Linked DNA regions of Homo sapiens: regions 2, 3, 4, 5, 6 and 7 are each linked to region 1. Evidence: promoter capture Hi-C in human tissues and cell types (Jung and others, 2019). All regions are on one chromosome and are shown on one strand. Each heading gives the region's core, a stretch centred on a gene start or on the middle of the fragment in contact. The rest is flanking DNA. Distances are from core to core; before and after follow the strand shown. Region 1 holds the start of UCHL1 (ubiquitin C-terminal hydrolase L1). Region 2 overlaps APBB2 (amyloid beta precursor protein binding family B member 2). Region 3 has its middle 80 kb from the start of LIMCH1. Region 4 overlaps APBB2 (amyloid beta precursor protein binding family B member 2). Region 5 has its middle 110 kb from the start of LIMCH1. Region 6 overlaps APBB2 (amyloid beta precursor protein binding family B member 2). Region 7 has its middle 130 kb from the start of LIMCH1.

The links. Contacts are between HindIII fragments. The study calls those that stand out against the background at their distance.
Region 2: a contact is called between a fragment that was not itself captured here and the fragment with the promoter of UCHL1 in region 1, in 2 of the 25 tissues and cell types used here (dorsolateral prefrontal cortex and hippocampus).
Region 3: a fragment that was not itself captured here is called in contact with the fragment with the promoter of UCHL1 in region 1 in 1 of the 25 tissues and cell types used here (bladder).
Region 4: a fragment that was not itself captured here is called in contact with the fragment with the promoter of UCHL1 in region 1 in 2 of the 25 tissues and cell types used here (dorsolateral prefrontal cortex and hippocampus).
Region 5: a fragment that was not itself captured here is called in contact with the fragment with the promoter of UCHL1 in region 1 in 1 of the 25 tissues and cell types used here (hippocampus).
Region 6: a fragment that was not itself captured here is called in contact with the fragment with the promoter of UCHL1 in region 1 in 2 of the 25 tissues and cell types used here (hippocampus and stomach).
Region 7: a contact is called between a fragment that was not itself captured here and the fragment with the promoter of UCHL1 in region 1, in 2 of the 25 tissues and cell types used here (hippocampus and mesenchymal stem cells).

What each region holds. Positions count from the first base shown.
Region 1 is chr4:41,255,008-41,259,242 of GRCh38, forward strand. UCHL1 (ubiquitin C-terminal hydrolase L1) reads left to right here and starts at 1,921. Exons shown (of 9, transcript NM_004181.5): 1 at 1,921-2,002; 2 at 2,108-2,119; 3 at 2,602-2,730. The coding sequence starts at 1,970. It overlaps UCHL1-DT (UCHL1 divergent transcript), which reads right to left and starts at 1,720. Exons shown (of 3, transcript NR_102709.1): 1 at 1,552-1,720. RefSeq lists a silencer at 2,037-2,796 and an enhancer at 2,631-3,131. The HindIII fragment of the contact is 4,741 bases long and covers 1-3,932 here.
Region 2 is chr4:41,040,880-41,045,114 of GRCh38, forward strand. The region is part of intron 4 of APBB2 (amyloid beta precursor protein binding family B member 2); the gene reads right to left. Among named protein-coding and RNA genes, the nearest start is that of APBB2, 170 kb to the right of the region's middle. The HindIII fragment of the contact is 8,647 bases long and covers 1-4,235 here.
Region 3 is chr4:41,456,294-41,460,528 of GRCh38, forward strand. It overlaps a transcript of LIMCH1 not described here. Among named protein-coding and RNA genes, the nearest start is that of LIMCH1, 80 kb to the right of the region's middle. The HindIII fragment of the contact is 5,437 bases long and covers 1-4,235 here.
Region 4 is chr4:41,069,270-41,073,504 of GRCh38, forward strand. All of the region lies in intron 3 of APBB2 (amyloid beta precursor protein binding family B member 2), which reads right to left. Among named protein-coding and RNA genes, the nearest start is that of APBB2, 140 kb to the right of the region's middle. RefSeq lists an enhancer at 510-1,060. The HindIII fragment of the contact is 4,450 bases long and covers 146-4,235 here.
Region 5 is chr4:41,429,519-41,433,753 of GRCh38, forward strand. It overlaps a transcript of LIMCH1 not described here. Among named protein-coding and RNA genes, the nearest start is that of LIMCH1, 110 kb to the right of the region's middle. RefSeq lists enhancers at 3,069-3,771, 3,772-4,235. The HindIII fragment of the contact is 3,886 bases long and covers 1-3,661 here.
Region 6 is chr4:41,090,957-41,095,191 of GRCh38, forward strand. All of the region lies in intron 3 of APBB2 (amyloid beta precursor protein binding family B member 2), which reads right to left. Among named protein-coding and RNA genes, the nearest start is that of APBB2, 120 kb to the right of the region's middle. The HindIII fragment of the contact is 4,749 bases long and covers 167-4,235 here.
Region 7 is chr4:41,410,261-41,414,495 of GRCh38, forward strand. It overlaps a transcript of LIMCH1 not described here. Among named protein-coding and RNA genes, the nearest start is that of LIMCH1, 130 kb to the right of the region's middle. The HindIII fragment of the contact is 4,812 bases long and covers 1-4,235 here.

The DNA.
Region 1 (4,235 bases), core at 671-3,170:
TGGCTAACACGGTGAAACCCCGTCTCTACTAAAAATACAAAAAAAATTAGCCGGGTGTGGTGGCGGGCGCCTGTAGTCCCAGCTACTCCGGAGGCTGAGGCAGGAGAATGGCGTGAACCGGGGAGGCGGAGCTTGCAGTGAGCCGAGATCGCGCCACTGCACTCCAGCTTGGGCGACAGAGCGAGACTCCGTCTCAAAACAAAACAAACAAAACAAACAAACAAAAAAACGGCATGAGGGAAATTTCCATGTTTATTGTGTTCATCTTTGTATGCCTAATTCCAAACTTTCCAAGCTCGGCACCCAGCACACAGTAGGTTCTTAATATTTGTTGAGTGAATGAATAAATGAAGTAAATTGGAAATGTAATTTGTCTTTGTCTAAAGGCAAGAACTCATTCAATATAACCTAGTCACTTGTCTTGACCTTCACCTCTTTTTTTCTTTAACAACCTTATTGAGGGAAAATTTACATACCATAAGATTCACCCATTAAGCTCCTCTTACTAATTTTTTTCTCTCTCATTTTTGTGTGTGAAGGTCATTTTCTAATGGCAAAAATGGAAAGAAAATAGAAGTAGAATGTTGTGGAATCTTAGATAAAGAATGGGCTCTTGGAGCCCAGTTTAGCAGGGTTTACTTCTCAGTTTTACTTTTCAATTGTGACCGTAAGCAAATTAACTTCTCTAGGCCTGGGATTCTGATCTGTAAAATTGCACTAATATGAGTCTCTTCACGGCTCCTCTAAGGATTAAATGAGAGACACATGCAAAGGATCCCCAAAAACAATAACTCAAAAAATGTTGATTCCCTCCCTTCCCTCTGTCATCTGTTAACCTCAACTTCCTAAATAGAAGGTCTATTCTTTTACCATCATCATTATTCTCTTCGGTGCCTATTTTTAAAAAATACTCAACCTTCTTGCTTCCTTCGCTACCTAAGTATTTCTGCAAGCCCACTTTGTTCTGCAGCTTAGCTTTCCTGGCACAATTCTTATAGATTTTGGTCCCTTTTAAAATTCATTCTTCAGCAAATGCTTTCTCTCTCCATCTTTTGACTAGAGATCATTAGAGATCACCTGAGATCATTAGAGAACAGTGGTTTCCTTGGTTGCCATTCCCTTTCTTCTTCATTGGGAGTATTCTGCGGTGAACTCAGACATTTTATTTTTCAAAGCTTCCCATTCTTTTAAAAATGCTTTTCCTTTTACAGCCTCTCGCTCAAAATCATACCCATCTTTTCCCTGGATCTGTTTTCTCAAGTCTCCAATCGCCTGCCTTCTTTGTGTCTTGTATTACCCTCACATCCCCCAGCTTTCTACTGCTCTCCCAGGACCAACCATTTCTTCCGCGGGAGTCACATTACATCAGCATTCCTAATGCAGTATCTGTTATCTACCAGATTCTGTTTTATTCTAGGTAGTCACTTAAAAACGAACCTCGGTACTGGTCTGACTTAACATGGAGGAGGAATTGTCTAAGGTTAAACGCAAACTGCTGAGAGATTTGGGGCGGGGGGCACACATTTACATTCATTCGTATTAAATATATACCTGTTGAATTTGTGCTTTTTCTCAAATGCTTCAGAGACTCGAGCTTTAGAGTAATTGGGATGGTGAAAGGATGGGTTTCCAGAAACTTCGCCCAAAATTAAAGACTCCATCAAAAGGACTGCTCCATACACTCAAGGAACACCCACCAACAAATCCCGTCTCCACAACCACCAGATTATCTCACCGGCGAGTGAGACTGCAAGGTTTGGGGGCCCGGCCGTACCACTCCGCGCTGCGCACGGGGGGTTCGTACCCATCTGGCCGCGACCGTCCGTTTCCCCCTCGCTTGGTTCTGCCCCTGCTCCCCCTGCACAGGCCTCACAGTGCGTCTGGCCGGCGCTTTATAGCTGCAGCCTGGGCGGCTCCGCTAGCTGTTTTTCGTCTTCCCTAGGCTATTTCTGCCGGGCGCTCCGCGAAGATGCAGCTCAAGCCGATGGAGATCAACCCCGAGGTGAGCGCCAGGTGCACCGCTACCCGGAGAGCGCGAGGCCGAGGGAGGGGGAGCCGAGTCGCTGATCGGTTCGGTTTTGCCTTTTTCTTTGCATTTGCCTTTCAGATGCTGAACAAAGTGAGTGGCGTCTCGCGCCGTCTCTGGCCCCCTCCCCCGCGAGCGCCGAGGCGGGGGCGCCCACCGGTTCCGGCTGCTGGCAGGGACCAAGCCGCCCGCTGCGAGCACCGGAGACGGCCGGGCTGGGGCGTGGGCTGGGCGCCTTTCCTGGGCCCCTGCATTTAGCGGGTGACTCTACGAAACCGGTCACGGGGAGACGGAGGGGGCTGCGCCCCGTGGCGAGCGAGCGCCAGGCGGAGCTCCCGAGGGCGTGGCGCGGGCAGCACAGACTCGGCTGCACGGGCTTCGCGGGCGCCACGTGTGGGCCGCGCTTTGTGCTGTGTCATTGCGCCGGCCCGGGTGGGGGTGGCAGGGCGGGACTGGGGCTCCTCCCAGGCTCGGGTGCGGGCGCGGAGGGCGCGCGCCTCCTGGCCCCGCCCCCTGGCAGGTGCCCGCGACCCGCGTGTCCCCGTGCGCCTGGCCGCCTTGTCTCCTCTCCGCAGGTGCTGTCCCGGCTGGGGGTCGCCGGCCAGTGGCGCTTCGTGGACGTGCTGGGGCTGGAAGAGGAGTCTCTGGGCTCGGTGCCAGCGCCTGCCTGCGCGCTGCTGCTGCTGTTTCCCCTCACGGCCCAGGTAGGGCGTGGGGCCCAGGATGCGCCGGCCGCCGGCAGTGCACGCCGCTCCCCAGCTTGAGTCCTCGGGGGCTCCCCGCCCCGCCCCCTCCCCTGTAGGTGATGCGGGGCGCGCCTACAAGGAAGGGAGGAGCCTGCATTTTCGTGGTACCTACTCCCTGGGCTCCTGTTCCAGCGGTGCCTGTCGCCTTCTTGCCCATCCGTCCACAATTGCCTTAAATTTGGAAGAGAGGCAGTATCTCAGTTCCATCTATCCCGTTATCCAGGGAAATCATTCATCCTACTCATGAGTTCCCTCGAACTTGGGCTTTTTCGAGCCTCCGGTTCCGGGGAATGGCTGCTGGTTTCCCTTTAAGGGCTATAACCTGTCAACTCATTGTTTGCTTCTCAGACTCCCACCTAGCTGTAGAATGGAGGGGGAAGGGCTGACCTAAATCGCAGGGAAACAATTAGGTTCGCTAATTCTCCGCCTCCATTACTTGGGTTTCTGATGGTCTTAAGGGGTTCTTCTCTCTTCTCCACTCCCACCACTTGCACACTTGGTTTTTAGCCTCTTGAATGTATTTCTTAAAGCTTAATCATTTTGTGTATGGTTTCTGTGTGGGAACCTCCTTCCTCTTCACTTATCCTTGTTCATCTCTGACCTTGTAGCTAACTGAAATAGGGGGTTATTAGCTCAGTTTTGAAAGCACCTTTGCATTTCCCTTGAAATGATTTTCCTCCTACAAGTGTGCATGGATAGATGTATCTGAAAGACAGCGTCAGATTTTTTTTTTTAAAGGATAGCTAGGATATTTGCAGTCTTGTGATGTATGGAATCCCAGTCATTAGCGCATGGCATTGTCTTATCTCCTATTGCTGTCACTTGACCGCTGATGTGGGAGTGACTGAAATTAGCTTTAGCAAAACTTGGGGCATCACTCTAAAGAGTGAGGTTAACTGAAGCACCGTCCTAAGGCTAGGTGTTCTGGAAGCATCTGTAGCCAAAATCAAGAGTATGGGAAGTTCCAAGCCTTCCTCCTAGTAAGTAAGCTAAGTATTGTGGGTAAAAACACTTATTTACAGCTAATAAGATGATCTCACTGACATGTTTTTATTGCTAAAGTCTTTTACTTGGGCTAAAAGGAAGATGCCAAATTGTTGGAAGTCGAATTAGCTTCCTGGTTGACCAAATCAGTCTCCTGTCTCCAGTTGAGCATCACACAGAGGTTTTTTATTAGAGCAACCATGATGACTCGGAGGTTTTGAGCAGCATTCAGAGGCAAGGCCTCTGGGAGGCAGTGGTGCAGCATGTTTGCCTTTAAAAGCTGACTGTTCTCCTTTTGCTGAATCTTGTTTAGAGAACATTCTAGTTTGTGTTATGTTTGAAAGAGCTCGATACTTTGTCCTTTAGTTTCAATTCAACCTATCAGATTTATCGAGCGCCTATTCTGCTACACAGAATGCCTACTGGACAAAACACTGAAGCCGATTGAAAGAAAAGTTGAGGTTTTATAGGTTGACTCC
Region 2 (4,235 bases), core at 550-3,049, 210 kb before region 1:
TATTTTTTTATTTTTTTTTGAGATGGAGTCTCGCTCTGTCGCCCAGGCTGGAGTGCAGTGTCGCAATCTCGGCTCACTGCAAGCTCCGCCTCCCGAGTTCACGCCATTCTCCTGCCTCAGCCTCTCGAGCAGCTGGGACTACAAGCGCCCACCACCACACCCGGCTGATTTTTTGTATTTTTAGTAGAGACAGGGTTTCACCGTGTTAGCCAGGATGGTCTCGATCTCCTGATCTTGTGATTCCCCCACCTTGGCCTCCCAAAGTGCTGGGATTACAGGTGTGATCCACCATGCCCGGCTACATGTGTGAAATTTTAACTCACTCTGGGGGTGGGTTTTAAAGTCAGAAAATAAAGCAAAATTCAATAACAGTCAACTATTTAAAAAAAAATCCTTTAAATTGCCTGCTTAGTACAATACACACAGTTTCAGTTAAACAAGTAAAATGTGTATAGTCTTGTAATGCATGCATAATGAAGAGTATTTAATAAGTATATGGAATGCAAAATTTCATTCCAATATTTTTATTTCTGCACAGAAGTGTACACACTGAATTGGCATATAACATTGTACTCTATGGGAATAAACTTGAATTTCTTACATTTTTGGAACATTAACCGTTACTGGTAATAATTTTTTTGCCATTCACATAGCTGGTCACTGCATACCTGCTGTTAAAAATCACAGCATTGAGAGATCCTTAATTTACCACTTATATAGTCTAAAACAGAGAGAAAAAAGTTGTGGCAATAAAGGTCCAAGAACTAATCCTATCACCAATTTCTTTATCTTTCGCAAAAATACTTAAGGACATTGATTTATGATCCTAGCTCTTTATCTTACTCCATTCTGTGTTCTCCAAGTGAGATTTCAAAACCAGTTCCAAGAACACTATCAAACAAAGAAAAATATGCACAGACAGAAAAAAAGCCTATTTTCTGAAATGTATCCCAGGGGAAAACACCAACAACTGGAAAAGAAATATTTTCAAGATATAACATTAAATGTAGATTTTTCCATTTAAGAGTTATCTTTATAACACTTAATCAGAAATTTTTTCAATGAAGCAAAAGCTTTATGCTTCCCCCACAAATATACCTGATCTCCAACTTTCTTTTTTTTTATTTTTTTGAGGCAGTCTCACTCTGTCACCCAGGCTGGAGTGCAGTGGCGTGATCTCAGCTAACTGCAGCCTCCGCCTCCTGCATTCAACCGATTCTCCTGCCTCAGCCTCCTGAGTAGCTGGGACTACAGGTGCGCACCACCACACCTGGCTAAATTTTGTATTTTTAGTAGAGATGGGGTTTCACTATGTTGGCCAGGATGGTCTTCATCTCCTGATCTCATGATCTGCCTGCCTCAGCCTCCCAAAGTGCTAGGATTACAGGCGTGAGCCACCGTGCCCGGCCTGATCCCCAACTTTCATATTCCAAAGGCATTAACATCTGCAATTTAGAAATAACTGCAATGTTTAATGCTTCTAAGATGTGCCAATTTAAAATATGCTATTGGACAACTATAGAGGACTAAGTTAATGACCCCAATCAACAGCGTCTCTGCATCCTTGCCCTCTACTCCGTAACCTTGCAATCCCTTTCCCCTGGCTCTGGTCTCAACTGTGTTGTTTTGGCCAACTGGATGTTAGCAAATGGGATGACACAGAAGCTCAGAATGTATGGACCCATTTCTGCTCCCCTGAAAAAGACAGGATCTGTGCTACTGCCATAAGAATATGCCTAGGCCTGTTGGAAGGGTGTTGGGAGACTTGGGTAGGATGGCTGAATCTTCTTGGTCAGGCCATTTTTGACCACCCTAAGCCAGCCAACCATCAAACACATGAAAGAACACTGCAAAGATCAGCAGATCTGTCTACTACCCCTGCAGCTGACTGTAGCCACATGAGTGAGCTCAGCAGAGACTATGAGAAGAACCACTCAGCCATCCCAAAAATACTAATGGCTATTGTTTAAGCCACTGAATTTTGGGGTGCTTCATTATGCAGCATTAATTGTGGCAATACACAATTGATACACTAGTTATAGCCACAACAACCAAATGAGATTGTAGAAGAGCTGTGGGATGAAACCTAAACTGATCCAAGAAAGGTATAATGCTATGTGAGGATCCTGCGGGGGGAATCTATTTTTTATTTTTTTCTTTGAGGTTTATGTTCTCCCTAGGTTACACAGGGCTGTCTTGATTAATACAGGCTGCATCTTTAGTCTCTACTGCTAACTGTTCATTCACAGCACATCAGCATTTATACTTTGCATATTAGAATATGCTGTGACAAAGCAAATTTTAGGTATTTATCATAAGGACAAATAAGCAGTATTATTTCTATTAGAAAAAAATCAAAAACAAGTTAAATGTCCATCATTAGGAAACTGATTAAATAAAGGATCACATCCTACAATGGAATACTATGCATCACTTAAAAGTGAGGCTGCTTCTATATTTAATTGCACAGAAAGATATTTACTAAATAACACTAAATGAAAAAAACTAACTGTAAAACAGTATGATGAGTATATAGGTATTGCCTACACAATGCTTTCAATTTTTCTGTTTGAAACTTCTCATAATAAAAGTTGGGAGAAAGGCAGTATGTATAGTGTCATTCTTTCATAAAAATATTTTAAAATCTTTTTATGGTAAAATAAAACACAGATGAAGAAAACCACACAAAACAAATAGCTTACTACAAAGAAAACACCCATAACTACCATCTTAATCAAAACACAGCTTTTGCTTGTTACCCTAGAAGGCCCTCCATGCCCTTCCCTTCCTCCAAAGTAAACAAACTCTTGAATTTATGGTAATCAGTTCCTGGCATTTCTTTATGATTCTGTTACCCGAGTGTATAATCCTAGTCACCATTAGTGCTGTCTATTTTTAAAATTTTGATGTCTTTTAAGTTATTTAATCTACATCGCCTCTATCCTTTTCTTTTCCTTACAACTTATTTGTTGAAAGAGTCTGGGCTGTCTGAGTTATGGAGTTTCCACAGTATGAATTTTGGTGGTGCATGTTTAACTCGTTTCTCCAACCTCTGAATTGCCTGCAAATTGGAGCTAGATTCAGAGGCTTGAACAGATTGAAATTCAGTCTGTGGTGGTATGATCTTTCATCAGGAAGCACATGGTATCTGGTTTTCATTCATTTCTAATGTTAGCAGCCATTGTTATTCAATGCCTAAATCCACTAAATCCACAGGGGTTGGAAAACAGTGACATTCCAATTATTTAATTTCATTTTCATCTACTGGGTGGAAAAATTTTAGGAGATGCTTTCCTTCATCTACCACTTGGTTTTCCAGTGGTACAGTTCATGTAAGAAAGAAGCTGATTCTTTCCTAACTACTTTCAAGATGATGAAATGGTGCTCCATTAACCTTTTCTTCATACTGCAGAACCAATATTTTTTTTAATATCATAATCTCATGGATTTAAACATATTTGCAATTTTATTTTTGGCCAGTAGGAGCCTCTTCAAGTTGGCTCCTAAGTCATTCTGACATGCCCTAATAATCTTTGATAGCTTCCTTGTTACCTATTTATTATCTTGAGATGTCCCAAGCTCATCTTACATCTTTCCAGTTATTTTTGTTGTTTGAAGCTCACTCTGTAGAAGGTTCCTTAGGAGGAGCTCATGAGGAGCAATATTTCCTCCACTGATTTTTTTGCATGTTCATAAGTTTGTGTTCTTTATGTCTGAAGGTCAATTTTGCTAGATATAAAAATACTGGCTCACATTTTGTTTCCTTTGAATACCTTAGGTATGACTTTTCTTTCAGCGTAAGAGTTTCCGTCAAAAAGTCTAAGAACAATCTAATTCTCTATTACTGTTTTTCCCTTTTTTGTCTAGATGCCCAAAGGACTTTTTCTTTTTCTTTCTTCTTTTTAACCCAATAGTTTTATTAGAATATCTTGGTATGGGTTGTTCTAAGGTGATATTCTAAAATACATGATTTTTTCTTTCAAAAAGTAGTTTCAATTTTTTTCCAGAAAACTTGTCTTAAAATGTATCATTTGCACCACCTCTTTGCTTTATTTTTCTCCTCTCCTATTACCTGTATGTTGGATCTGCTTTGTCTATCTTCATTATTTGTCAACTTTTCCCAAATTTTACTTCTTTCTTCATTTCCTTTGGATTTTTAACTTTTTCCTCCTTTTCACCTTCTATTTCTCTTAGGTCAGTATTTGTAGTATTTAGTTGATTTTGTGCTCCTTCCA
Region 3 (4,235 bases), core at 494-2,993, 200 kb after region 1:
TGCATCTTTGATGCAAATTTTCTCATTTTTCTTATTATGTTTGATTGTTTTGGGTGTGTGCGTGTGCATGTGTGTGATGTTTTCATGCCCAAAAGAGCAATTGCAAATTCCCTGGGTACACCAAGTAATATGCCTTGTCTTAAGCAACTAATCAGACAAAATTGCTTTTTTATCAGACTCATCTAGATTGAAAACAATACTGTATGCCCTTGACCATCTTCTTTGACCAGTGTTGCAGTTTTGACAGAGACGCTAAGGCAGAGGGAGGGAGGAGATGCTGCCTTTATCAATGGGCTGCTGCTTTATAACAAACCATCTGCTCTAGTTATTAGGTTGGTGCAAAATAATTGTGCTTTTTAGCATTACTTTCAATGGCAAAACAGTGGCTGAAAACAATGACAGCATTTGTTTCACTCACAGACCAGCAATTTGGTCAGAGTTCTGCAGGGCTAGCTTGTCTGTTCCACTCACTGTCAGCTGGGTCAGCTCAGAGGTTTGGGGCTGGAATCATCTGAAGCTTGTTTGCTCACATGTCTGGTGGTCGATGCTACAGGTCAGCTGAGACTTTAGCGAGACTGTCAACCACCATACCGACATGTGGCCTCTCCATGTGGCCCGGGCTCCCTCACAGTATGGGGGCTGAGTTTCAAGGTGTGAAGACAATATTCTCTTCCTATGTAAGAGCAGCAGTCTCTGTCACAGAGGCTAAGACCATCAGAGCTTGAGGGCACAAAGGGAAATTCTACTTGGAACCTGGCATATCAAACCTGAAAATTCAGAACTTATACTTTGGTTAGATACAGAGAAAATGCACGTGTGCTCTCTACAGTAGATGTAACAAATCTCTTGAGTTTATTAGATACATAGCTCTCAATTTAGACAAGTTTTCTGAAATATATACCTTAATTTCTCAATTGGCAATTAATTTCATCTTGCTTTCACAGTCTTACTGACATTATTCTGCTTGTAATAAATTTGATTATCTTGTTGAATAGGTATAGACAGTTTATTTTCTGGAGGCCTCTAGAAAGAGACCTTGAGGAGAATTATGGATTGATATTTTTATATAACGTAGGGAAATTATGTGGATTTTAACTGGGTCCATTATACCATTGGCTTGAGAGGTGATGTGATATTAATAAGAACTAACATTTTTTGAGCATTTTTTCTGTCCTAGGCACTGTTGTAAGTACTTTACATAAATTGCTCATTTAATCCTCCCAATAGTACTGAAGCAAGTAGTTTTATTATTTTTATTTTATAAGTGAAAAAACAGTGGCCCAGGGAGGCTAAGTAGCTTAGCCCAAATCATAGAGTCACTCAGTGCTGGGGCTGAGTTAGAACGTAGGCAGTGTGCAGTTTGGCTCTGGAGGCCACATCCCTAACGAAGGTGAAGGTAGACTTTGGACAAAGCCATGGCCTTTGACTTTCATTTCTTTTAAGAAATCACATGATGCTGCATTTGTGAACAGTTATGCAAATCCATTCAGAAAACATTTGCAAATCATCTGACTGGAGATTTAAAAAAAATCCTTGAAATAGCATCTTTGCCTTCAAAGACTTTGTTATTTAGTAAAGGTATTAAAATAAGAACATAACTAGACTATAAGGCAAATAATGGATAAATAGATGAGGAACTACGAAATGGGAAACCTCAGGGAAGGGCAAGAAAGAGAAAGATATTTTGAAAATAGGAGGCAATTAATAAGTATGTTGATAAGATGACTAAAACAGTATAATTGGATTGTTTGTAACACAAAGAAAGGATAAATGCTTGAGATGATGGACCCCATTTACCCTGATGTAATTATTATGCATCGTATGCTTGTATCAAAACTTCTTATGTACCTCATACACCTGCTATGTACCCACAAAATTTTTAAAAAAATGGATGCATAGTATCTCACTCGATGAAAGGAAGAACTTGTAACAAGCCAATCTCCTTCTTTTTGCACATTAATCTTGCTTCCAATTTATTTGCTACTACAAAATGATTAAAATGAGTGACTTGTAAAAAAACCAAATAAATATGTTGAAATTAAATCAAAGTTTGAACAGATCTTGAGAGGTACCTAGTAATTGAATAGGGGTGGAATAATACTAATCACATATGTGCAGGAAACAGCACATAGTTCAGTTTGGGTTTGGGCAAGGAGAGAGTAGGAGCCAAGGCTGGAAAGGTGAGTTAAAGATGGATTGTGGGCCAGGCGTGGTGGCTCATGCCTGTAATGCCAGCACTTTGGGAGGCAGAGGCGGCCAATCACGAGGTCAAGAGATCAAGACCATCCTGGCCAACATGGTGAAACCCCGTCTCTACTAAAAATACAAAAATTAGCTGGGCGTGGTGGCATGCACCTGTAATCCCAGCTACTCAGGAGGCTGAGGCAGGAGAATGGCGTGAACCTGGGGGGCGGAGGTTGCAGTAAGCTGAGATTGTGCCACTGCACTCCAGCCTGGTGACAGAATGAGACTCTGTCACCAAAAAAAAAAAAAAAAAAAAAATAGATTGTGAGTCCTTTCTTGAATATCAGGCTAAGGAAGCTGAACTCTTTCCTGAGACAATGGGAAGGAACTGACAGTGTTTAAATAGTGTACTTGAGTGGAATGACTTTGCATGAACTTATATGAACTTTTGAGGCATCCTGAGTCATTTAGTTGCTGTTCAACCTGCTGAAGTTGCTCTCTAAGCCTCATTATATTCAGTTATAAAATGGGAAAAATAATATTGATTTCATAGAGTTCTTATAAGGAACTAGGATATGCAAAACTGCCAATAACATGCTTGGCACTGTACAAGTTATGATTTCTGAGATACTTTTGTATCATTTACTATTTGGAAGATGAACATGCTGATTATGGCTGAGTTTCATGGCAGTAATTACAAGGATAAAGAGCTTAAAGAGGAAAATTTAGTTAGGATGGTGTATTAGTGTTCAGTAAGGAAAAGAAAAATCATTTTAGGTATTTCTTTGCCTCCCTCCTTCCTTCCTTCCCTCCCTCCCTCTGTCCCTTCCTTCCTTCTTTTTTGACAGGGTCTTGCTCTGTCACCCAGGCTGGAGTACAGCAGCTTCAACATGGCTCATTGCAGCCTCGACCTCCTGGGCTTAAGTAATTCTCCCACCTCAGCCTCCCAAGTAGCTGAGACCACAGGTGTGTGCCAATGCATCCAAATAATATTTTTAATTTTCTGTAAAGACGAGGTCTCACCCTGTTGCCCCAGCTGGTCTTGAACTTCTGGGCTCAAGCAGTCCTCCTGCCTCAGCCTCCCAAAGGGTTGGGATTATAGGTGTGAGCCACTGTGCACAGCCCATTTTAGGTATTTTAATGGAGGGAATTTAACAGAGGGAATTAGGTATGTGGATGGTATAAGGGCTAAGAACTAAACAGGAGGCAGGGAAGCAACCCAGAGATTAACAATAGCAAGAAGCTACCACTAACTACTCCTAGGGCTGAAGGGACTTAGGGAGGATATTTTTACCTCAGCCCAGAGACAGGGGCTGCTAAGTGGGAGCTAGAACCATGACGAAGCTTGCAGTAAGAGCTGCAATGTGGAGGAAGGTGCTGACCAGGGAAAGCTAGAGCATGGAGGAGAAATGACCATTGCTAGAGATGCCACCTGAGGCGAAGATAGGGAAGGGAAGATTTCCTGCCTTTTCCACACCTCCTGCCCCAGTCTTCGCCCAAGTCTCTCACTGATGGATGAATATCAGTGAGACTTTCTTACCTGGAAGCCGACTGTCAAGGGAGCCTGGGAAATTTAAGTTCCCTTTGATATAAAGCAGAGAGGGGGTGTGGGCAGTAGGATATGGATCTTAGAGTCAACAGACAGAGGATCGGCACAGATAGAATTCTAATTGACTATAAAAATCTGCACAGTCAATATGGTAGCCACTAGTCAGGTGTGACTATTTAACTTTAAATTGAAATAGTTGAATTAAAAATTCAGTTTCTCAGTGCACTAGCTGTATTACAAATACTCAATATTCACATGTGACTAGTGGCTACCATATTGCATAGCGCAGATGTAGAATATTTTGATCGTTGATCATGACATGCTACGTGAGCCCCAGGTTTGCTGGAACATCCTTCACCTATATTACACGTTGGCCTTGGTCTGTAGAATGAGGTGATGCATAGGTAAATTTGTTCCACTATAGTAATCATCTATATATATATATATATATATCTTATAATATCATGTTATAGATCTTAAATATACACAAAAAGATTTTTTT
Region 4 (4,235 bases), core at 1,121-3,620, 190 kb before region 1:
GTAGTTATGCCATCCCACTGTGATCTCCTGAACGCTTTTCCATCTAGGGTTTTAGCCAATTCAGAAATGGAGTGGAGTGACTTTATACTTGGAAAGTATCCCAGTAATGCCAAAGGAGCAAGATTCATTAGAAACCCGATGCGATGGAAAACACCTGGAAAAGCAGCTTTTATGTTCCCCAGACAGCCTTTGTGATCTCAAAAACTCTAAGACTGCTCTGCGGTTTGTCTATTCTGTTAACAGGAACAAGATCCAGGCCATTTCTGGAACTTGAAAGGATTTTAGAACCAATGCTATCTGCACTGAAGTCAGTCAGGACAGAGATGGTTTCAAAGGCATCAGATGCCTACTAACTGGAACACTCATCTCTGTATCCTCGGGGCATAGGATGTAGTAAGCAGTCAATAAATGTGAAATAAATCAATAAACCAATACATTAGTGAAAAGCTTTCACAACTAGGAGGTAAGGAGGCCAATTAAATGGTGAGAACAGAAATAGTCTATTTCTTCTTTTCCTACCCTAACTGACTCAAAGCAAAGCTGCAAATCACATTCAGCTGCATTTATACTTTTCACAGAAGAAAATCTTTATGAACTCATAAATATGAACTTGTAAGTAAATACTGCATGTTAAGTGGGAGGACTCAGAAATTATGAAACACAAGATGCCTCTTAAATGGGAAAATAGATGGGTATGAACATTTTGAGGACACAAAGCAACAGAAATTGCAGACTTTACATCTGTCTGCCTTCTTTGTCATCCTCCCCTGTGAAGGACAGGACATCATTACTCTCACAGCATGGTGCCTCTCCTCCCAGATGCTCATTCACACAACCCACTTCAGTTTAACCTGCTGGGGCAGTAAGATAAATAGTCATGAGATAACCAAGTCTCGCTTCCTTGAAAATTTTAAAAATTCACCTTGGTTGCAGGTCTGTTTTAGTCCTAATATATATTTCTATTACTCACAATTTTACTTCTTTTATAATAAAAGAAGCCCTGAGGTATCATGATCTTACTGGACACATTTTATTTTATTTTACTTATTTATTTTTTGAGACAGAGTTTCACTCCTGTCGCCCAGACTGGAGTGCGGTGGTGAGATCTCGGCTCACTCCAGTCTCCGCCTCCTGGGTTCAAGTGATTCTTGTATCTCAGACACGCAAGTAGCTGGGATTACAGGCATGCACCACCACACCCGACTAATTTTTAGTAGAGACAGGGTTTTACCACATTGGCCAGGTTGGTCTTGAGCTCCTGACCTCAAGCGATCCACCCGCCTCGGCCTCCCAAAGTGCTGGGACTACAGGCGTGAGCCACCATGCCTGGCCTGAACACATTTTATATTACGCAGCAGCACAAGGTAATATTTGTCTAAAAATAACTTTAATAATAAAGCTTCCAAAGGTGAGGAATAGTTTTTTTTATTAGTATGTACCACGTGACATTTTTCTGAACTGTTAAAAAATAACTTGATCCTGAAAACATCAAATCTGATTGTGTCCATCTGACTAGCAATATCTCGGGAAGGAAATCAACCTTTGAGACTTCTTTCTACTCTTAAGAACGCTAAGATCAAGATAAATATACGCTATTCACTTGAATGCAAGCCATCAAGGAAAGGAAGGGAATATATTTGCCAGTCTACAAAGTGTTTAGTGTGCAGCTTTTTAATTACTGCATTTACGGTACTAGCCATAATATATTCACTATCACAAATGCTCTACAAAGTCATTAATCCTCAACAAATACATTAATGCTTCCCTCCTCTCCTACAAGTTCTTACTATGCTGATGTGGGGCAAAAATGCCAAGAATTCTCTCCAAAGTAAACATTTCATGCCAACAGCCACTAGTTCTACAATGCTCATTTCACTATTTTAAGATATGTAATAGCTCTGCTTAAGCATTTCCTGCTGTTGACCTAAAAGATAAGTTTGTACACAAAAAATTTTTAAATGGCTTTACTTAAAGCAACAATTTTTAATAGAAAGGTGATGTAAGCTATCTAAAAGGTTGCTTATGCTCTTCCAAAATAATATATTCTATAATTCAATAATTATAATTCTCTGCATCATTCTGCAGTTATAGTACAATATAATTTCTGCTTTTTAAAATCTCCAGGAATAGGCCGGGCACGCTGGCTCACACCTATAATCCTAGCACTTTGGGAGGCCAAGGCAGGCAGATTACCTGAGGTCAGGAGCTCGAGACCAGCCTGGCCAACATGGCGAAACCCCATCTCTACTAAAAATACAAAAATTAGCCAGGCGTGGTGGCGGGCACCTGTAATCTCTTCCACTTGGGAGGCTGGGGCAGGAGAATCGCTTGAACCCGGGAGGCAGAGGTTGCAGTGAGCAGAGATCATGCCACTGCACTCCAGCCTGGGTGACAGAGCGAGACTCTGTCTCAAAAAAAACAATTAAAATTTTTTAAAAAAAATCTCAAAGAATAAGACATTGAGAATGATCACGATTTTCAAAACAGCTGAAGGATTACCCATTTAAGTATCAAAATGGGTTTAATTTCAACCATAGTGGATTAATTTTTTTTTCTAAAAGGTAATGCCTTCTTCAGAGAATCCAGAATATGATTAATCTTTGTTTGGTGACACAGGATCATCAACATGACTATAAATTACTTGCTCTGCTGGAACATGAGAATACTAACTCCAAGGAAAAGGAGTGGCAGCAGTTACTGGGTAGGAGCTGGGTTTCTACCACCACAAAGAGAGCTGGATGGGGAGTTACTACTAAAGCACAGGGTGCAATGAGAATCAAAAGGAAGAGACTGCTGAAGTTCTCACAACAAGGAAAGCACAGATATAAATACACTCTGGAGAGCCCAAGGGGAAATCCAAGTTACAGAGCCAGGTCTGAAGTCAAGAGCTGTGGCCGACTAGAGTCAGGATCTGAGTTGGAGATAAATTGATGGCGAATAGAGGGAGAGGGTGTGAAGTTGGCTTTGTGTGTATCCTGCTGGTAACTGGGTTTAACCTGCCCATTAAAGGCCAGTGGCAAGACAGCTGTTCTCAGAAGCTTCTGAGGCAACAGAGGGCTGTTTATTCCTCTACTCAAAGGCAGATGGCGGCTAGGCTTTGGGGATATGTGTCTGCCTTTCACAGTCTGGCTATCTCCTCTCCTTTGTCCTAAAGAGTTGCATCTCATTTCTGTTATAGTACCAACCTTTCCCTTCTTCAAGTCAGCTATGATTTTGGAATTCAAATAAAATAATGAAGTGTAAGAGAACGAAACTTAAAATACCAAGCTCCAGATAAGATCTGAAGGGCACAGGGCACGGCCTCTGAACACATACTTGGGCTGTTGTGATGCCTTTTTTGTTTATTTCTTGGTTCTTAGGGAATTCAAATAGTGTTCCTTAAGCAGAACTCATTTGAAGTCATTTAGCCAAGCCTAAAAAACCTGCCCGGAGCGTGTTATTTCTAAGTGACCACTGTTATTTAACAAGCACCTCCTTTGGAGAAATTCAATAAGCAGAATCTCCAGAAACACAACAAAACCAATTGCCCTGATGTGAACAATCTAGAAATGTGGGAACAAACTCAGAACCTGAAGAAAGGGAGGACTTTACCATTGCATACATTAAGTGACTGTTGGCAAATCAATTAGCCTTCCAAGCCTCATCTGTAAAATGGGCTAAGGATATCTGCCTTGCAAAGGTATGATTGAGAACAAAAGGAAAGGCTCAGAAGAGATCTACAAATACGAATTACACCTTAATTAAGTGGTAACAAATGTGAATTACACCTTAATTAAGTACATAACCCCCTACAACACACAGATCTTTATTTAGACCTTTTTTTAGACTAGGTCTTGTGCCTAGTAGTTTCTATCCAACTTTCACCACCCCAGATAAGATTCTTTTTCCCAATTATTTCCACAGAACATTCTTCTCGGCTAAAAAATATTTTTTACTTCACTGCTCATATAGCAAGAACAACTACTCCTGAATTTTCAGAGTAAAAAAAACCTAGAATGTAAAAATTCCCCATTATGATTTTCCCATTTTGTTTCTTCTTAACAACTTCCTATCTAAGTTCTTTTCTCTTTCTCCCATTTTTCTTTATAGCATCTTTGTGGATCTTATTTTCTCACTTTAAGTTCAACACTTGCTGTAATGTGATTTAGCAGTTTACAAGGCACCTTCACATATATTACCTTATTTCCCTTAAATTTCTTCTATTCTCTTTGTTTCTTGCCTTACTTTCAGAAATA
Region 5 (4,235 bases), core at 469-2,968, 170 kb after region 1:
TTGGTTTATATTAGCGTTTGTATCAGGCTGTGGTAAGCACAGTATTCTCAGATTTGAACCTATAAAGAATTATGGAAAAAGGATGGTGAGGTCCGCAGAAGTGGTCATGGCACTTATATTTTTCCAGTTTGCCTTTCTTGATTTTTCTTCATTAAATTTTCATTCAGTGTTTTTATCAGACAGGATGTGTTAGATGATGCTGCAGTAACAAATGATACCCAAGTCTCAGTTGCTTAAAGAAACACCATTTTCTTTATTGGCTATGCTACATATCCATGGAGGGCTGGCCTTCATGTAGGCCTTCATGTAGATGCACGTTGATAGATATCCCCCTGTCACCAGTTACAAGGGAAGGAAAGGAAACATGGTGAATCATGCACACTGTCTTGTGGGATTTGGCTTAGAAGTAATATTACTTCTGCTCATATTCATTGGCCAGTCAATGAAAGGCAAGTCAAATGGCCATGCCTAACTTCACATGGATGGGCAGGGAAACACAATCCTATAATGTTCTTGGAGGAAGGAGAATTGGAAATATTTGGTGAACAGCACTAAATTCCTAATACAGTATAGACGTTACGTAAGTCAAATACCATAATAGAGTCTAGGGGCACAAAGATGAATGGAGTGTATTCTAATTCTAGAGAAATTATATTTTTTGGGGGAAATAGCTTTATATAGGAATTTCAAAATGATGGTGATGAAGCTAAGATGTTTTTAAAACCATTTCTGTATTTTATTATATTTATCTATTTATTTTTTGAGACAGAGTCTTGCTCTGTTGCCCAAGCTGGAGTGCAGTGGTGCGATCTTGGCTCACCACAATCTCTGCCTCCAGAGGTTCAAGCGATTCTCTTGCCTCAGCCTTCCGAGTAGCTGGGACTACAGGCACGTGCCACTACGCCCGGCTAATTTTCGTATTTTTAGTTGAGATGGAGTTTCACCACGTTGGCTAGGATGGTCTCGATCTCCTGACCTCAAGATCTGTCTGCCTCGGCCTCCCAAAGTGCTGGGATTACAGGCTTGAGCCATCGGGCACCCTGCCCCCATCTCTGTATTTTAAAAGATTAGGAATGTTTCCTTTGTTGTTTCATTTCTCCAGTTTTTGTAAGTATGTTCCAAAAGTTACAAATAGCTACTAAATAATCTTCAGAACTTAAATATGATGAAGAAAAATTGGCTTTACTTAATTTTACATAATGTTTGGGTCCTTTCTTGAATCTTTATATGTGAAAGACATCATTTTTGTGGTTTTGCCATGCTTTAGCAGTCTAAAAATTGAATGTGCCTAAGGAGAATAACTTTTTTATTACATGCTGGCTTAAATCTCAGACAGAATTCCATTGAAAGCCAGTTGGTTTTCTGTTTTGTTTTTTTTTTCTATGTGTCTTTCAGTGCTGAAATTGGAAATAAACCAGCATTATGGCTTCATGACGGAAAGTGTAGCAATTCTGCACAATGCACAAGCAAGTTTGTCATTTAAAATAGCAGACATCTGTCAGAAGTTGGTGCTGACCTTCTAAACTGCAACTGAATGTTCAGACTGTTATTTCTCCATCCTCCTCAGATGCATTTCCAGTGTTGGGCTCACAGCCCCATGCTTCTTGTCTGCTTCCTAGTGGGTTATGGGTTGTGTCCTAGAGTCTAGACATGAAATGAAAAATGATTATGTAATCTGTTTCCCTTCTTCTCTGCAAAATTCAGAGGAAGGGTCAAAGCTTTGAGACATACCACCTCCCCCTGCTTGGTGGAAAGAGCAGATTTTGAGGATCTATAGACATAGAGTTGGAATCTTGGCCAGCCCCTTCTTACCTGTAGAACTTTGGGCAGATTGCTTTATCTCTTTAATTCTCAGCTTCCTTCCCAGTCATATGAAGAGCATAAGAACTGTTTCAGTGGCTTGTTGTGAGGGTTAAGTATATGGTTTATATAAAATGCCAACAGTGTCTGACATGTAACAAGCACCCAATAAATATTCCCTATTGGCACAGTGCTTACTGGTTTTTAAAGAACTTCATTACATTTTATCTCATGGGACTACATCAAGGAGGTAAAAGGCATCTAGCTGAATTAGTTTTCCATTAACTTTCCAAGAAAATAAATACAGACTGCATTCTCTTGGAGTCACAGTTGACTTCGCAAAGATCTTATTTTATTATGATATGTGTATGTTTTCTTCTCTACTCACATTTTCCCTCACCCATCATCTGTTACATTACATATAGACTGAATCCTCTACACTTTTTAAGTTATAAATCTTTTCTTGTGCTATTATGAGTTTTGGGTGATTACTTCAGCCAGCAATGGATGATTAAGGGCTGAGGGGATTGGTGTTCATACTATAGGAGAAGAAAACAAAAACTTTGATAATTTTAATAATAATGACTAACACCAATTGAATAATGATTCTGTGCCTAGTTCCTAATTGAAGTTTTCTTTTTTCTATGAAATCATAATTAATCTTCTCTCCACTCTGTAAGGCAGCTATGACTATTACTTGCACATTGCAGGTGAAGAAATTTAGGCTAGGATGTTAAATAATTTGTCCAAGGCAGTATACTTAGTAAGATTAGCACTGGAATTTAAATCCGTGATTGTTTGATTTCAAAATTGCTGTTTTTCCCCACTCAGCTCTATAGTACAGATAAATTTGGGTTTAAAATAGGGAGGTTATATTGCTGGCTGATGCGTGTTGTGTGAACACTGTCTGAGTGGATTAATTGTGGCAGCTAAAAATAACAGGGTGTATTGTTGACTTTTTGTACAGTCTAAACTTCTTTTCTGGATGACTTTAAAATATGAGTGTGTTGCTGCTCTTGATTCCTAACAGAGAACTTTAGAGACCTGGAAGCCTGTCCTTTGTGTAACTCTTTACGTATAACGTCAGATTCTGTGGACAGGTGGCCCCTGATCTGCATCCCTAACAGGAGGGTTAGTACTGAGAAGTAAGGGTAAAGATAGAAGCTAGAAAAACAAATAGGCTGTACCTTCCTGTCTGAATTATTCTCTCATTTTTCTCATCCCTGACAACTTTCTCAATAAATTGTCCTAGCAAGTAAATCCATGGGTCTCTATCCTTGTTGGGAATAGCATCATTTGGGCAAAGCTTTGCCATCAATTTTTCATTTAAAAACATTTCCTAAGGTAAACATTAAGGCCTGAATGACAGCTATAGTTTGAGATTTTTACTTTGAATTATGAGGCTTACTTGGCTGGACACCATTTTTCAATGGCAACGATCCTTCCTGTTTTAAAACCTGATTGTTAAAATACAGGACATATGGGAGATCTTAAAAAGATCAAGTTCCAAGTATAATTCTTTTTCAAGTAGGCAGTGGAGTCTGGTGCATAATGTTCCAATCTAGTTTCACGGTCCTTTTGATCAACCCAAAATAAAACTGAACAAGACAGCATCTCTCAAAGGGTTAATACCCTGGAATTTCACACTTAACAATCGGCATTATGTTCTTTGCATTCTTGAGGAATTTTCTCACTGATGTCAAAAGACTTTGGTTTGTTATGCAAGACAGTGGTCCAGTGACTTTGCATATCACATTCTCTTAACATGAGGGAAATCCTTGCATGCTAATTGGAGAAGGAAAAAAGTAGTGCAAGTGGTTCTTTGGCTACAGATGAATTAAATGAGGGAGGGCATTTAGTGAAAAAACAAAGCACAACAAAACCCTTGCAAATGAGCGGGCATTCTTTTGAAATGGCTGCTTACTCTAGTCGTTTTGCGTCTGTCTTACTGCTGTGCTGTGTCACTGTGATTCCAGTTTTGGGGGGGAAACACTTGAATGTATATATGGTTTGTTTTTTATTTTTCTGATTGCTTTAATTACCTATTGCTGTATAAGAAATGACTCCAAACTTAGTGGCTTAAAATAACAACAATTTATTGTTTCTTAAGATTCCATGAGTTGACTAGTTCAATTCTGTTCCATGGGGTGTTGGCTGGTCCCTGTGTTCAGTTGGTGCCGGGGCTGGGCTGGAAGGTCCAAGACATCTTTTCTCACATGTCTGGTACCTCAGTGCTTCTCCACGTGGCCTTTCTACCTGGCAGGTTTGGGCGCCCTCATAGCATGGTGGTTTCAGGGTAGTTGGACTTCCTCAGGTAGCTGGCCTTCAAGGAAAAGAAAGCAGAAGCTGTTAGTCTTCTTTTTTTTTTTTTTTTAAACTTTTAAATTATAAAGCTGTCAGTCTTCTTAAGGCCAAGCTTGAAAGTGGCAGCATGT
Region 6 (4,235 bases), core at 1,291-3,790, 160 kb before region 1:
GACACTGCTCTTCCTCTCCTGGTTACTGCAATAGTCTGTAAGTGTGAATTAAGTCCATGATATGCCATGTGATCTGATCCCCTGGTGTATTTGTCGGCTTATTTTATTGTCACCCTCACACTCTCCCTAGATACCATCTGAACTCATCCCCCATCTATGAGGTTCCTCTCCCCTTGCTTTGGTATTTTATTTCCCATCACTGAGCCAACCAATCAGAGTTGTACTAGGCACTCTGCTATCTTCTCCGGAAAAAGGGGTACCCAAAGCTGAGTTAGATATAGTCCTTGCGAGGTAATTGTCCACAATTTTTGTTTGCAAGACTTTGTTTAAAATGCAATACAGTTTTTGCTCCAACCTCCACTTCTGCACGTCCAAAGCAGCCCAAACAAGGAGTGCAGCTACAAAGTATGCTAGCGAAGTCACCCCCCGTTTATTTGCAGATACTTTTGTATACATAATGAAGCAAAAGAATAAAAAAGTAAGTAATTTTTGTGAAGATGTCAACATTTTTACATCTTGAAAAACTTCATAAAAGCTCTCCCAAACAAGACACTGTGGCCTTTTAGGGGAGCAACATATCATATACTCTTTCTTGCATCCCTACTTCCTTCTTGAAGTTGGTGAGGGATTGATTGTGTCTTTCCCATCACTGAATCACCAACACCTTGCAGAGTTATCTAGCACAACACAGGCAGTCCATAAATATCTGCGGAGTAAATGAATGAATGAGGGGCTCATGATTATTTCTTTCTTCCACAACACTGTGATTATATATTAAGTACTTTTTTCTTAATCCCAGCTCCTCAAGATCTTTGCTCCATTGATTATGTCCTCTTAAAAGGCAGCCCCTATATAGTAACAGGTTTGAGGTCAGCAAAAAAATCCAACCAAATACCCAGGAACTTAACAGCAAGGTAAGTAACCTTGAGCAAGTTTTCTAACCACTCTCTATGCTCTATTTTTTCTTATCTATAAAATAGACATGTTTTGCAAGGTTTTCTGGTATTTGTGAGATCTGAACACAATTTATGTAAAGGGCCAGGCAGGAATCCAATAAATGTTGAATAAAAGAATAAATTGCCATTCTCTTCTATGGTCCAGATCAAAATGCAGCCATCAAAATCTAATTTGCCAAAGCTGATCTTCATTCAAACAACAGACATGCATCAAGGGCTGTAAGGCACAACTAGAGTCTGTCTGCTGTTGAACATCAAAGGAGGAGTTTAACATCTGCTTTTAAATGCAGGAAAACAATAATTAGTTCACAAGTAAAAGGAAAAGTTATATAATCTGATCTTATTTGCTTTACCAAAGTATCAAAGTATTAAGGGATTACCAGCTTACAGCAGACTGAAGCTTTCTTGCAGGAATCACATAATGGGTGGAGGCAAACCTGGAAGTGGGTTTTTAAAGTCGGCATTCCTAGCTCCTGCTTTTCACTGTCAAGAATGCAGGAGCCAAGTTTGCCCTTAGTTTAAAGCGCAGAACTAAGCAGCTACAGACAACAAGAGTAAGATTTGGTCTGAGTCTGAGACCAGCCTGGCCAACATAGTGAAACCTCGTCTCCACTAAAAATACAAAAATTAGCCAGGCATGGTGGCGCGTGTGTGTACTCGCAGCTACTCGGGAGGCTGAGGCAGGAGAATCGCTTGAACCCGAGAGGCGGAGGTTGTGGTGAGCCGAGATTGCACCACTGCACTCCAGCCTGGGCAACAGAGTGAGACTCCGTCTCAAAAAAAAAAAAAAAAAGTACTTGGTCTGAATAGAGTTTTCATTCAACTGTGCTTGCTCTTACAGCAATCTAAGATGTAAAACTTCAAAAGAGAAAAATATCACCGGCCTCTGTTCAACTTTAAATTCATGAAAGAAAATATGAAACTCTGCTGTGGGAATACATTTGTTTTTGCTGTACAACAATGTTTTAAGAGATCCATTCTGCTGCTGTTTCACCCTCTCCTTCAGGCCAAGCAGAGGCCAATGGGGATAAAGAGCTCCCCTGTGTTCTATTTCCAGAACACCTGAACTTACTGTCGACTGAGGCTACGAGAGCTATTTAGAGGCCCTTACCTTCCTCTTTTCCAGTAACATCAGCAGAAACGAGCTATAAAACTTTCCCTAGGGTTTGGTTTCCTTTCTCACAGCTCAGTTGTGCTGCTCTCCTGGAAGATGAAAGAAACCCCAGAGTTTTTCAAAGCCCAGATGAAATGTTGATCTCAAGTAATAATTTCCATTTTCTTAAAAGCCATCATTTCCTATTTTACTCAGGCACACAGAGCATGAAGCAAAGCCTAAACTACCTCCTTAGGGCTCATGAGAGTAGATGCAGTCAGTAGTTACAAGAGCACGTGAACTCTGCTTTAAAAACAGCAAAGGGTCATCCTGAGATAAACATAGGCTATAACGCTGAAGTGCTAAATTCTGTCCTACAAGTTCACAATTTTGGCTTCCTTTTAAGGGTATCTGAGCAAAAAGTGGCTTCCAAGTGGATAAGGATTTTTTTTTTCCCTAAGTTCCTAATGAACCAGGTACATGAACCTATGATCACAACCTGTTTTCTTACCCATCCTCATTTCCCAGATTTTTTTCTTGCCAAGGGTTAAAAAGTTCGTAAGAAGGGCCGGGCGCGGTGGCTCATGCCTGTAATCCCAGCACTTTGGGAGGCCAAGGAGTGCAGATCACCTGAGTTCAGGAGTTCAAGACTACCCTGACCAACATGGAGAAACCCCCACTTCTACTAAAAATACAAAATTAGCTGGGCGTGGTGGCGCACGCCTGTAATCCCAGCTACTTGGGAGCCTGAGGCGGAAGAATCGCTTGAATCTGGGAGGTGGAGGTTGCGGTGAGCCAAGATTGTGCCATTGCACTCCAGCCTGGGCAACAAGAGCGAAACTTCATCTCAAAAAAAAAAAAAAAAGTTCATAAGCAGAAGAGATGGAATCCAAACCTATACAGTCAGTCTGACTCCAGGGCATCTGACAGTCACTTGCCCTTAACTGTCACTTTGTTGTCTAAATCTGACTCCAGCAGGCACCAAACAAGAGTGACTGTCAGCTATGTGAGGTAATCCATATGTTAATTCGCTTAATTTAGGATTGACACAATGTATACATATTTCAAAACATCATGTTGTATACTATAAATGTATACAATTTTTATTTGTCAATAAAAATAAGAAGAAGAAAAAAACAAGTGACCATTGGCCCAAGGGGCTCCACATGAGTTTAGAGACTGAGGTCCTTACTAATATGAGTGACAATGTAATATTTTTTATGAACTCAAAAATATCATTTATGACATTGGAGTTTTATACCTGCTGCAGCAATGAAGCAGCAAGCATAGCTTTATAGCCTCCAAAAAGGGCTTGCAAGAAGTACACTTTACTCTTCGCTTCAGTCTTTGACAGCAAGTCACAAATTATTTTTCAGATAAAATGGCAATTAGGAATTTCTTGAAACTTTAACCATCAGTCCAAACACCAAACTAACATCCAAGAAGCCCTTTTTAAGTTCTACTGGACTTTAACTGTATAACTGCAACTGAAGCTTTACCTATAGAATGAAAAATTATTTAACTTTAGAAGACAGAAGGAATCTTAGAGATTATTAATTCTATCAGCCACTTTTTTTAAGAGGGAGTCTCCCTTTGTCACCCAGGCTGGAGAGCAGTGGTGCGATCTTGGCTCACCACAACCTCTGTCTCCCGGGTTCAAGCGATTCTCCTGCCTCAGCATCCCGAGTAGCTGGGATTACAGGCACATGCCACCTCGCCCAGCTAATTTTTGTATTTTTAGTAGAGACGGGGTTTCGCTATGTTGGCTAGGCTGGACTCGAACTCCTAACCTCAAGTGACCTGCCTGCTTTGGCCTCCCAAAGTGCTGGGATTATAGGGATGAGCCACCGCACCCAGCCTCTGTCAACCACATTTTATTGAGTGTTATCTGCCATATTTTATTAAGCAAGGTGCTACGAAAGACAAAAAAATTCATGAGACCTGACCCCAGCCCTCGGGATCTTATAGTATAGCAAATTAAATAAAATGTTACATAAATATGATCAATTCAAGTTAAAAACAACACAGGATGCAAGGAGGATATTAAAGGAGTGAAACAGAAAAGATCACTTATAAATGTGGCAAAATGGTTAAGAGCATAAACATGACAGTTACAGTGGTGGGTTCAAGTAGTGACAATGCCACTCCTTGGCTGTGTGACATTGGACAAGTTATTTTACCTGCCA
Region 7 (4,235 bases), core at 1,077-3,576, 160 kb after region 1:
GGAGGCTGTGTTTATGATTCCTAGGGCCTGTAGATTGCATCTTACACAATATTGGATTCTGCTCATTTCTGTTGGTTAATTCAGTCTTCACATTCTCCAGTATAGCTTCTTTTGGCTCAGTTAAGATTTGCACTCCTCTCAGTTTACTTCTCCTGTTCCATTAAGGCTTATGTCATTGGCGTCGTAGGAAAGAATTATTTTTTCCTGTTCCCATTACTGTTGTTTTCTTCAATGGTCCTTCTTTGCTCTCCCCTAAAGGATCTGCCCTCAAACCACTTTACATCTCGACCAGGGTGTGATAGCTCTGCTTGGATGCACTTAAACAAAACATGGGGGAAAATGGAACTAACTCTCTGTGCTCCCTGCAAGACAGCACCCCTCCCCTGCATTGTCAACACTGCCAGCATTCTCCTCTCCCGTCCATGGGATCCAGTGAGAGGTATTTCGGTCCCAGATGTTTTAGGGTTAATTTGTGTGCTGCTGTTTCTGCTACATGCTGGTTCATTAGCCCATCTTCTGGCTTTCCTCAAGCCCATGCCTAGATTGGTGAAACCGTTTCTCTGATTTTTCTCTACACTTGACTTCCATCTCATTTTGCCAGGCCCTGCTCCCTGCTGGGCTGACCTGGCCCTTACCTAAGCCCCACACTCATACCTGCTAGCCCATCCGGATAAATGAACTCCATTCTATTGTCTTGCTGTTTGTAGAGGTTCACACAGCTCAAGACATTCTTCACCACCATCAGGTTATTTCTTCTCCCTTATTACGTTAGACTCCATTGAAGACTCTTAGTCTTCTCAAACTCAGCACTTGAATGATTGCCTGTGTTTGTAAAGCATTTTTACAGTGTGTATTTTCACCTAGAATGTCTCATTTACAAATGTTTCTAAAATGTATTCAGGCTAGGATTTGAATCCAGGCAGTCTGGCTCCAGAGCCTGTGTTCTTAAGTTACTAAGTTTTATATTTGGGATAATAGAGAGATGAGAATTTGGACAAAAACTTTTATATATAACCTGTTCCTTTGCTTGCATGGCATTCTATCTCATCATGGCCAACATGATCAAAATTTCTCAGCCGAAAATTACTATGTTGCTGGGTTTTGTTTTTGTTTTTTTTGTTTGTGTTTTTTGAGACAAGGTCTCACTATGTTGCTTAGGCTTGGACTTGATCTTTTGGGCTCAAGCAATCCTCCTGCCTCAGCCTCCTGAGTAGCTGGGACTATAGGTGCAGGCTACTGCCCAGCTTGCTGTTTTTCTTTTTATCAGGAAGTTCCCTTGAAGCTTTAAGCAACCAAACCTGACTTTTTCCTCTCTCACAAATGGCTGGGATTCATTGCCGGATTGATCGCTCCACCACTCACTCTTGTGGTCCACCATCTGCCAATGGACTCAGCTTTTAGGGAAAAAAAAAAGGATAGGCTGGGTGTGGTGGCTCACGCCTGTAATACCAGCACTTTAGGAGGCCGGGGCGGGCAGATCATGAGGTCAGGAGTTCAAGACCAGCCTGGCCAAATGGTGAAACCTTGTTTCTACTAAAAATACAAAAATTAGCCCGGCGTGGTGGCAGGTGCCTGTAATCCCAGCTACTCGGGAGGTTGAGGCAGAAGAATTGCTTGAACCCAGGAGGTGGAAGTTGCAGTGAGCGAGATCTCTGCACTGCACTACAGCCTAGGCGACAGAGCGAGACTCCATCTCAAAAAAAAAAAAAAAAAAAAAAAAAAAAAAGGATAGCCCTGACACAGGTTGAAAACCTGTTACATGGATCACAGAGAATGTGCATTTTTAAAAACCAGCCTCATTAGCAGAGATTATTAGCTATGTCCAACTAAGTTCCCTTTTAAAAAAATGTTTTCTTCTGTATTAAGGCTGTGACCCATAGATCTCATCCTCACAGCGGGGCATTGGAGTTGGTGCAGCTGAGCAGCAATTTATTAAAGGTACAAATTGAAGATTTCATATGGCACTTGGTCTTCCTCATGCCTCTTGTAGCCAAATATTTTTAATAGTGTCTGAAAAAAGTGTCAAGTTGAAAATTAGAGGATACTAAGACATGGAATATAATTAGGTACTGAAGAGATATGATGGCTGTTGTTCTAGGTGCTGAATTGCATATCTCAATCTGCATTTTTCTTTCACTTTTCGGGTTTGAAGACTTAGATAATCCCAGTATCTACAGAGGTTACTTAAGGATACTAAGTGACATGAGGTTTTATAGTCATAGGGGGAAATAGAGGTAAAATGGGAAACTAAAACGTTAATATTTAGGGCAGTATTTAAAAAAAGAATATAGTAATTGGGTCAGTTTATATATGTATGCATGTGTATGGGAAAGTCAGTGCATTGGAAAAGAGAGAAGGTTTTTTGCATTATATTCTAATACCATCATGTGTTAGAATCATGCTTTATAGGTGGGGAAATGAGCAGTAGAGAGGCTAAATGAGAGACCAAGAGACTCTGGGGAAGTGAGGACAGAGCTGGGATTGAAACACATCCTTCTGGATTCAAGTACACTTGACCTTTGCCTTCTGGCTGAGTGGATGGCAAGAAGGATCCACCATGTCAAGAGAAAAAATTAAAAGGGAAGATGTTCATCTAGGGGACTAGTGTGATATCACTGACTTTGCACTAAAAAAAATGGTTTAGCTCAACTCTGGGGGTTACCAGCTTTGTAACCTAGGTAAGTTGCTGAAGTTGGGGCCTCAAATCTGGAGATCCTCATAGCTAAAGGGAAAGGACTTTTTGAGGATAAGCTTATCTACCACCTTTGAAGATTGAGATAATGTGCATGACAATATCTGGAACTTGATAAATGTCAAATTCCCTTCTCCTTCCTTTACATATTGATCTGTAAGTTGTTTAAATTTTTGCTCATGACATTGTTTTCTCCTGAGTCCTCTTTGTCTTAAAAAAACTAACAGAGAGCCATGTTATTATATGCAACATGTAGACATAATAAGTTTTTTTTTTTTTTTTTTAAATATCAGTTTTGTGTGTTGTAAGGTAACTTCCAGGTAAGTTACCTTATGGCCAAATGGTTTGAAGTCTCATGGAGCCATGAAAATGTATCTACAATTTGACTTTTTTTTGAGACAAGGTCTCATTCCATTGCCTAGACTGGACTACAGTGGTGCAATCATAGCTCACTGCAGCCTTGAACCCCTGGGCTCAAGCGATCCTCCCACTTCAGCCTCCTGAGTAGCTAGGATTACAGGAACATGCCACCATGCCTGGCTATTTTTTTTTTTTTTGTATTTTTTGTAGAGATGGGGTCTTGCTTTGTTGCCCAGGATGGTCTCAAAATCCTGGCTTCAAGTGATCCTCCTGTCTCAGCTTCTCAGTGTCCTGGGATAATAGATGTGACCCTGGCCTATAATTAACTTTTAAGAAAATAGCAATAGTAGTATAAAGACCAAGAGAAATGGCAAGATGTTAACATCTTATGCCATTTGTTCTGGTGGCAGTGAATATTTATTTAACATGGCTATTATGCTGTGGAGTGGTTAATGTCCAGATCAGTTCCACATAATGTAAAGCCGACCTCAAGTAGGAGGAGGATAAATGGGTTAAAGGAAAAAAGACTAGCAGAGGTTCCTGTGGTTTATAAAAAGGAAGTGGTTGAGGGAGAAGATTAATGACTGAGGATTAGTAAACCGGGGTTAGCTGGTGCAGTTTTAACGCAGACCTTAAAGGGGGGCAGGGGCCTGCCTTTCTCCAGCCTGGTAGAATGGGAAATATCATTAGAGGGTAATAAATATATTTAGTTTAAACTTCAATTCCTTATGTTTACATGAGAAAAGATTAGATTACAGATTTATTATAACTCATTCTCCCAAATATCTGGGAGTAAATAAAACATGATATAATCCTGTATTATTCATATTAACAGGATGGGGGGGCAGGAAGAGTGTGTGTGTGGACAACATAGGACAATGAATAGTATGAAAACCACTGATCACTGACAGATCCCTCTTCTGTTTTCTTCCTGACCTTCTTGGTTTGACAGCACTAGACGTAGCCGAGTTCTTAGCATGAGAGAAGGGGGTTGAGAGGGAGAGACAACTCACGTACTACTGAAGTTGATTATCTTAAATTAAAAAACCGTTATCCCGATCTACCCCCTTAAAAACTGTTTTCCTCTCAACTTCTCACATTCCATGAAATATACTTATAAGCCTCTAATGCCTGACTTGATCCTTACCGTAGTGATTAGAGTCAGATGTTTAGACACGCTAGA